3 separate regions of the Homo sapiens genome follow, and all the other regions are linked to region 1. The links are contacts of gene promoters, found by promoter capture Hi-C in blood cells and fetal thymus (Javierre and others, 2016). All regions are on one chromosome and are shown on one strand. Each heading gives the region's core, a stretch centred on a gene start or on the middle of the fragment in contact. The rest is flanking DNA. Distances are from core to core; before and after follow the strand shown.

Region 1 (3,016 bases), core at 363-2,862:
AGGCCATTGTTTTCAGAACCAGCTGTGGAGAATCTGCTCGACAGTGGCCTTGGAACAGCTGCGGCTGCTGCACCAAGAAGGGAGGGCAGGAGGGCGGAGCGGTACTGGTGGAAGGGTGAGCTAGGAGGAAAGGCTGCAAGGACCCTGCCACGCCACCTCCCGGCAAACCAGGAAGTATTTTTGCAGTAAGTGCATTGGACTGAGCCACCTTTTGAACCTACCCGAAGTGTTAACAGCGCACAGCAGGCCTTAGATGGGTGCAATAACTGCAAACTCTCAACGGGCTGGTGCCTAAGAGGCTACGGGCTGGCAGCTAAATAGAGCCCGGCGCAGTGAGTCGCGTTGTCCGAAAGTACACAGAGTGGAGCCAGCCGACTGTGCTGTCTTTGCAAACCGTGACCGAGCAAAGTCCGCGGTAAACAAGCCTCGCAGCAGCTGCCTCCGGATGAGCGCCCCCTGCTCATTCCTCCACCCAGCATTTCCCACGCGCCCAGCGCTCCGCTCTGCAGCCCCTGCCGTCCTCTCTCCCAGCCCCATTCTCAGATCGCCCCATCTTTTGGCCCAGCCCAGGTCCCAGCCCCCGCGGCTGGCGCACCACACTCACCATCTCTTGCCTGAGGAGGTGAAGCTTGGTTTCTAGCCTCTCCAGGGCGCTAGAGTGGCTACCTCGTGGGGAGCCAGAGGTTGGGGAGGACGAAGAGGAGGACGACAAGGAGGGAGGGAAGCTGCAGTAGCTGCTGCTGCTACTGCAGCCGCCGCCGCCGCCGCCACCACCACCGCTCCCCCCGCAGGGGTCCCTGTCCCTTTCCCTGGGAACCGGCTCCTCCCCACGGAGAGAGCGCACTAGACTCTCGGGTACTTTGCGCCCCAGCTTCAGCTCGATGTCTCTGAGGTCTGGCAGCGGGCTGTCTTCCATGACTTTTCCGGAACGGCGATAATAGTAATAAAACGCAGCAGATGAAAGGCAGCCACGGCTTCGAAGGCTGCTGCGAAATCAGCAGACCTCTCCGGGGGCCAGGGTCTCTATCCTCCGCCGCTCCGGTGTACCGTCCTTTCCATAACCGCCTATGCGGTATCAGCCCTGAAATCCGCACAGGACGCGGGGGGTCGCAGCTGCAGTTCCCAGTCCGCTGCGACTCCTCCGACACTAAGATGATCAAGATCTCCTCATTCTCTCTCTTTTTGGCCACCTCACTGCAAAGTTGAGTTCACTGATATTGCAGACAGAGGGGGAATAAAGAGGGGGAAGTAGTGAAAGAAAAGAGAGGGAAATTAAATCTGTTTTAGCTTTACCAAGGGAAAATTTTCACATTATAAAACCGTCCGTTCACATCCCTGCGCCGCTCACTGACTGCCCATCTGGTACTACGCGACACAAAATAATGATGCAGCCAGAAACGATGTCCTGGGTCGTTTCATTTTCCAGCCATATGCCTCCAAGCTTTCGGGATATCCTGGGTTGTCAGAAATAATCTCTGGTCAGTGAAAGAGGAGTTCGGTCGTGTGCATGGACCCATAAAAAAGAGCTAGTTAGCTTAGCAGGAGTTTAACGGCTTCCTTGATGCAGCAAAAATGTCCTTCTTCCCATTTAGGCTGTTTGATCCAAGTCATTGTGTTCCTCTGAGCCTCGGAAACTTTAAACTCCGCTGGCAGGTGGACCAAACCAGGACCAACCCTTCTACCGTATATCACAGACAAGAAGAGCAACCGGAATTTTCCCAACCCTGTCGCTAGTAGCAGAGTTTCAAAGCCCTGCTTTAGTTAGGAATACCAGTTGATTTTTCAGTTTTCCTGACTAGCTACAACCTTTAAAACAGGTTTTAAAATGAGAGATAGAGGAATGACTTTATATTTGGTGTCTTCGTTTCCCATCTCTCTACCTTCCTCAAAGGAAAAACAAACAGAAAACCTCTCTTTAGAAGACTTTCCTAATAATTTTATTCTAATAAAAAGAGTGAAACAATTTCATCAAAAGTTCAATGGAAATGTACAATCAAAATTAATTATCCTACCAACTGTTACAGTATGCAAACAAAAGTGAAAAATTAAATAGCCAGAATAACTTACATGACTGCTGAGATAGCAGTGAAATTTTAAGAACAAGCAATTGCTGAGATACTTACTTTTATTTTAATTATGGAAGAAAAAATATTGGGAATAACTATTTAAAATGTTGTCTTCTTTGATAATTTATCTATAAATTAATTTATAGATTTTTTCAACTATACAAATTGTACAATTAATTGTATAGTTGAACAATTGTACAATTTATTAATTTGTACAATTGTACAATTCATTAATCTGAAATACTTCTACCAAGTAAGTTATTATGAGCTACATGGATTACAGATCTGAATCAGCATTGAGTTTGTGTCAAAAATGTTTAAGTAGAGGATACTAATTTCAATCCAGTAAACTACAATTTTTGATTTCCATTGAAATATTTCAAAGTATGTGCCCCTCTATTTCTGTGACATATAAGTATTTGTGTTCCTGGTCACTCCGAGGCTCCATTTCCAGAGACATCATTCAGGTTTTACACTTGTAGGAACATAGGTATATACATCTCAGAGTTTGTTTTTATCATATCTGACTCTAGGAAACCTTATACGTAGAGGAAACATACGCATTCTAAATGAAATATTTCATGTCAGGGAAAAAATGCTGAACTTTCTATCAACATGCCAGAAATTTGCATGCTATTTCTCCCTTTTAAAAAGAAATGAAGAAAATAGTTATAAGTTAGATGACCCATTTCAAAGTTAGAACTACCACTTACAGAATCAAGGGAAAACAAGACCAAATCCCAGCTAACTGATAAAACTACATGCTTGGTCCTAAATTTGGAAAAACACAAGCTCGTTGCATAAGAATTGCACTGTGGCATGTAATTATGAAAGGCTTGTGTTTCAGTCAAGAACAGTTTATTATTACAAAACCCTTACAAAGTTCAGCATAAGGCTGGCTAAGTGCAGTTTATAGATGAAATATCTAGCTAGAAATTGGTCAGTAAAAA
Region 2 (3,016 bases), core at 258-2,757, 330 kb before region 1:
AATGAGGGGAACTCTGTTCTACTAGTTTTGTACCAAATTAGCTAACAAACGTGCATTTCCCTCTCATTCATCTTATCTGTAAAATGATAGATTATTTTATCACAAAGGTTCTATTTAGTTCTAAAATATAAGAATTCCGTGATTCTTAGTTACACAAAACGAATAGAAGAAACTGCATATTGTAACAACTCAAAGTTGTTAACCAATCATTGTAAATTTAGGCGCTCAATGTAACAAAACTCATTTTAGTATCCCAGTGACACATCTACCTTCTTAGCCATCATTTAGTGGCTCTCCATAACGAAAGATGCCATTATTTCATGGTAGGCTGCTGGAAGATGAACTAACCTCACATCTGAGTTTGAGCTAGCAAAGAATTTTTATAGAGGATGCTCCATACCAGACTGTATGGGAGAAAGCCACCCAACCCCTTCAAGTTTCATAATGTCTAAGTGCCCCCAACAAGAACAGCCCAGTTTAAATAGTGTCTTCCCATGATTCATGTCCATCTGGAACCTCAGAACGTGACCTTTGGAAATGGGGTCTTTGCAGATGTAATGAGTTAAGTTCATGCTGATTTAGGGTGTTCTCTATCCTAGGACTGGTTTCTGTGTAAGTAGGTATTGTGAAGGCACAGACATAGGGAAGAAGGCCCCATGAAGATGGAGGCAAAACAAAACAAAACAAACAAGCCAAGGAATACCTAGGGGGCCCTCAAAAGCTGGAAGAGACAAGGAATGTTTTTTCCCTAGGGCCTTCAGAAAGAAGTTGGCCTTATTGACACCTTGATTTCAGGCTTCTGCCCTCTATACTGTGAGAAAATAAATCTCTGTTGTTTTAAGCCACAGTTTGTGGTACTTTGTTTAAGCACTGGGAAACTGTTAGAGTATCTTAAATGTTGGTTGCACGTGGTGGCTCATGCCTGTAATTCCAGCACTTTGAGAGGCCGAGGTGAGCTGATCTCTTGAGCTCAGGATTTTGAGACCAGCCTGAGCAACATGGTAAAACCCCGTCGCTACAGAAAGTACAAAAAACAAAAAAAAACAACTAGCCAGACAGCTACTCGGGAGGCTGAGGCAGGAGAATCACTTGAGTCTGGGAGGCAGCGGTTGCAGTGAGCCAAGATCGCACCATTGCACTCCAGTGGGCAATGGGAGTAAAACCTTGTCTCAAAAAAAAAAAAAAGTTTGTGTCCTGAGCTACTGTCATTATGTCTGGCTAACAGGAGAAACTCTGTGAGTAGCTATTAATTAACAAAGACAAAGCACATTAAAGAGAAAATGGAAGGAGGGAGGGAGGAAGGAAAGTAAAGTTTGAGAGGAAAAGAATATAGATTCATAAGTCCTGGGGATAAGTAATGAAGCCTTATGCTTGCTATATTTTTTCTTTCTGGAAATATAGTAGTTGTCTGTGGTGAAAGAAGAAAGAAGAAAGTACTTGAACAAAGAGTTTAAATAAAGACTTGACTATTACAATGTTAATGCCAACATACTACCCAAAACAGTGGATTGCCCATAATAGGTTCCATAAATATAATTACGTTTGATTAAATCAAACTGGAAATACCACAGATTTCTGGTATTCTTCATACCACTCCAAAAGGATAATAACAGTAATAAAGTATTTCATATATACACACACACACACACACACACACACACACACACACACACACACACACACATATATTAGCAGCAGGAATAGCAAGGTAATGTAGCCAATCAGTAAAATTCATATATCAGAACAGTGATGGAGTTAGAAGCATAAAAAAATTAAAATTCGTTAAAGATAAGACAAAGGGGCCGGGCACAGTGGCTCACACCTGTAATCTCAGCACTTTGGGAGGCTGAGGCAGGCAGATCATGAGGTCAGGAGATCAAGACCATCCCGGCTAACAGTGAAACCCTGTCTCTACTAAAAATGCAAAAAAATTAGCCGGGCATGGTAGCGGGCGCCTGTAGTCCCAGCTACTTGGGAGGCTGAGGCAGGAGAATGGTGTGAACCCGGGAGGTGGAGCTTGCCGTGAGCCGAGATCACGCCACTGTGCTCCAGCCTGGGTGACAGAGTGAGACTCCGTCGCGAAAAAAAAAAAAAGATAAAGGAGGAGAGGGTTTTTTTTTTCCATTTTATGAATCTTGACAAAGCAGATTCTGATAGATAGGAAGAAGCAAAAGGAGCTCTTCCCTGCTCTGAGGTATATGATACTAAACTGCCTTAGATTTGCTCAGCTAGTTTATTGTCTGAGAATGCCGTACAATGATTTGGTGCCCCTCTTGAGATCCCAGGGTGAATAGAGAAGTTGAAAGGATGTGTTCAGGGAGACAAGTAATAAATAGGCTTTTTTTTTTTTGGTCTAGGTGTGGGAATGTCAAAACTATCATCACTTGCTTTCAGCAGCCCTGGTGTGTTGTTTCATGTCAGTGACAGATATTCTGGAATGCATTTGATTTGTGCAAAGATGTTTCTCAACTTTGACTACTAGGAATTAATGTTTAACTTTGTCCTTTTCTAAAGAGAGTTATTTGTAAGGCAGGATTGGCCTTCAATACCTTAAGAGGCAAAAAATTGGTGTCAAGAAAAGTTCTAACTAAGAGCATGAAAACTGGGGAAAGCAAATGTTCTTAAGGTGATTTTTATATGCTTGGCATTGAATTTTCCTTTTCCTCAAAATACAAGTATTCCATATTCATTTCAGTGTAATTTAGAACAAAAATGGTATTATCTGTGTAAGAATTGTTATTGTCAGTCAAGTACTGAAAGTTCAATAATAGGCCCTTAAAAGGCATTATGTCAAGCAGGAGGCAAATGTATGGTAAGGATCTCAGAATTGCTTCACTGGAGTTGTTATTTGAAATTTCCAAAAGGATAACACCATCAAAACACTGCCTTAGGCTGCTTCTAGGAGGAAACTTCAACTTATTCACTTAACTTTAGACACTTTTTGGAAGGTTGTGTCAAGTGTGAGTATTTTGTGATCCTTTCTCCCCTCACCCTCCTCCTCTTTACATCCATATTT
Region 3 (3,016 bases), core at 306-2,805, 260 kb before region 1:
CTAATCCTGGCCCTGTTATAGTTTCATTTGTCTGGTTTACCTCCCAATCTCAGCTTTTCCTGGCCACTTCAGGGTCATGCATATAATAAATATTAGGGCCAGGCGCAGTGGCTCATGACTGTAATCCCAGCACTTTGGGAGGCCGAGGTGGGCAGATCACGAGGTCAGGAGTTTGAGACCAGCCTGACCAGCCTCATGAAACCCTGTCTGGACTAAAAATACAAAAAATTAGCTGGGCATGGTGGCGCACGCCTGTGATCCCAGCTGCTCAGGAGGCTGAGGCAGGAGAATTGCTTGAACCCGGCAGGCAGAGGTTGCAGTGAGCCGAGACTGTGCCATTGCACTCCAGCCTGGGCGACAGAGTGAGACTCTATCTCAAAAATAAATGAATAAATATGAACAATCTCTGATAATTTTAGACTCAAAAACAGCAGGTAGTAGGAAGCTGGAAGAACACTTGTGTTCATACCCAGCCTCTAGGCCTCAGCGATCGCAGCGTTCAGGGAGAGCGGCAGCCTCCCTCCCTGAAGTCCCATGTGGAGATGGCCCTGCTCCAACAATGAGGCGCCGGAGCGGGAAAAAGGAACTCCTCTAATGACATAAAACAAGTGAAAATTTATATGATCAGATGAGCTAACAAGCTTGAAAAAAAAATGTGATCTTAATGAGCAGAGCATATTTGTTAACAATGATTGGGAAAATAAACCTGCTTTATGGCTATGTTCTCAAGGCGTTGCGACTCTTCACTAAATCATCCTTGTCTCATCTTGTGTTAGGTTGTTCACTTCCATTGCTCACACGTGCTCAGCCCACACAGTTGGTGTGTATAATGGGGTCATATACTACCGCTGAAAAAATTCAGAAAGTTCTGCTTCAGTTCTGCTTTTGCCAAATCACTGTGGCCTATACGTCAAGGAAGAGGGACCTAGGAAGCCCAGAGTTTTCCATTACTTTCCCTACCAAATCAAAACACAACCCAACGCCCATGCTTGTAAGCATATCGGCTTCCGGTTCAGCTTCTTTGGAAGATTCTTTTCACTTCCACTGACATTTGCAGGGAGAATTATATTAAACTGAAGCTAATAAGACCATGTGTTACTTCATATAAAATATAATTGTAAATACAATCCTTGGCAACTATTTATTTTACCTCCAGGTGTCTCGAGTGTTAAGCACCAAACTATCTTTATTTTCTTTATGAATTTATAGGAAAATGTCTTTATGGTCACAGTACCATTTTGAGAGAAAAGAAAAAAATCTTTCTTTAAAACAAACAAACAAACAATTCTTGTGGTCAATAATTGAAATTATTCTCTGCCTAAATTGCTCTATATTTACATGACCTAAAAAAAATTGGAACTTATGTAAACATGATGACAAAATTAAAATGTTATTTTCTGCCAGGCACGGTGGCTCATGCCTGTAATCCCAGCACTTTGGGAGGCTGAGGTGGGAGGATTGCCTGAGGTGAGGAGTTCAAGACCAGCCTGGCCAACATAGTGAAACCCTGACTCTAATAAAAATACAAAAATTAGCGGAGCGTGGTGGTGGGAACCTGTAATCCCAGCTACTTGGGAGGCTGAGGCAAGGAGACTGGCTTGAACCTGGGAGGCAGAGGTTGCAGTGAGCCGAGATTGCACCACTCCACTCCAGCCTGGGCAACAGTGTGAGACTCCAACTCAAAAAAAAAAAAAAGAGAGAGAGAAAACTGAGTCACAGAAAAGATAAGTAACTTTCACAGAGTCACACAGAGAGTAAGTCGTGGAGGCAGGACAGTCTTGTTTGGTACTTTTAACCTCAGTGATAACCTAATTGTCTCTACAATCTTCATCTCCCTTCAGCTTTGGCTGTCTGCAGAATGTGTCTTCCTGATTAACCCACCAGCTACTCAAACTTAACTTGTTCCAGATGGAACTGAGAATCTGTTCTGATTCACCTGCTGCCTCCACCCTTAACTTTGACTGCCTTCCCCCTCTTTCCATTCTGATATTTTGATAACAATATTATCATGCTTGATTTTTGTTTTTGTTTTTGTTTTTGTTTTGTTTTTTTTGAGACGGAGTATCTGTCGCCCAGGCTGGAGTGCAGCCTCCCGAGTAGCTGGGACTATAGGCGCCCACGACCACGCCCAGCTAATTTTTTTTTTTTTTTTTTTTTTTTTTTTAAGTAGAGATGGGCTTTCCACCGTGTTAGCCAGGATGGTCACGATCTCCTGACCTCGTGATCCGCCCGCCTCGGCCCTCCAAAGTGCTGGGATTACAGGCGTGAGCCTCCGCGCCCGGCCCATGCTTGACTTTTCTGTACCTGTGAGTGCTTGCTATAAACTTGGCCCTGCCTGTTGCCATATTCTAGCAGTGAAACAGCTTGAGTCTCTCCTCTTTCCTTTTCCCACTGTTGTCTCTTAGACACTGCTCCACTGTCTCCCTTCTCCAGTTAATTCTAAACTACACTGGTACCCAACAAAGCTTACAAAAATATACTGCTAATCTTCCCATGCCCTACTAAGAAAGCTTTAGTAGCTTCCTTATAAAATGAGTAATAAACTCCTAAAGTTTTCACTCTAGGCTATTCATATCATAACCAAAATTTTGTTTCAATCCTTATTGCCATTTCATCCGCTGTCCTTGCCTGTCCTCAGTTTGCTTGTTATAATGTTATTTACTTTTTTGTTGTTATTTCTGATTTATCACCTTAATACCAACCCACTGCTTCCAACTCAATATTTAGTATCTTTCCCATGTTCCAGATATCTGGCAATTTCTCTTGTTTGGCAAATTCTTCTTTAGTAATCTTTCATATCTTCCCTTGGCTGTTCATTTCCTTTGCTGTTGTTGAGGTTCAAGCATTCTTGCCTAGGCTAGAGCAATACTTTCCCAACTACTCTGTGTTTTCTTTCCTTCATTAACTTTACTCAGCATTATCACTGTCAGGGTAACACTATCAAAACAGACACTTTTACCCTGTATGTTTCCTGTACGAAAATTAAAATGGCTTCTTATTTATTATAGATCAAACT

Evidence for each region. The method cuts DNA at HindIII sites, captures the fragments that hold promoters and counts their contacts. A CHiCAGO score of 5 or more calls a contact.
Region 2: a contact is called between a fragment that was not itself captured here and the fragment with the promoter of LURAP1L in region 1, in 2 of 17 cell types (megakaryocytes and endothelial precursors). The highest score is 7.0, in megakaryocytes.
Region 3: a contact is called between a fragment that was not itself captured here and the fragment with the promoter of LURAP1L in region 1, in 1 of 17 cell types (megakaryocytes). The highest score is 8.5, in megakaryocytes.

What each region holds. Positions count from the first base shown.
Region 1 is chr9:12,773,616-12,776,631 of GRCh38, reverse strand. LURAP1L (leucine rich adaptor protein 1 like) reads right to left here and starts at 1,612. Exons shown (of 2, transcript NM_203403.2): 1 at 605-1,612. The coding sequence starts at 916. The region is part of intron 2 of LURAP1L-AS1 (LURAP1L antisense RNA 1); the gene reads left to right. The HindIII fragment of the contact is 1,821 bases long and covers 1,444-3,016 here.
Region 2 is chr9:13,102,274-13,105,289 of GRCh38, reverse strand. No RefSeq gene overlaps it. Among named protein-coding and RNA genes, the nearest start is that of SNORD137, 130 kb to the right of the region's middle. The HindIII fragment of the contact is 3,526 bases long and covers 1-3,016 here.
Region 3 is chr9:13,030,300-13,033,315 of GRCh38, reverse strand. It overlaps the pseudogene LOC100130801. Among named protein-coding and RNA genes, the nearest start is that of SNORD137, 59 kb to the right of the region's middle. The HindIII fragment of the contact is 1,824 bases long and covers 644-2,467 here.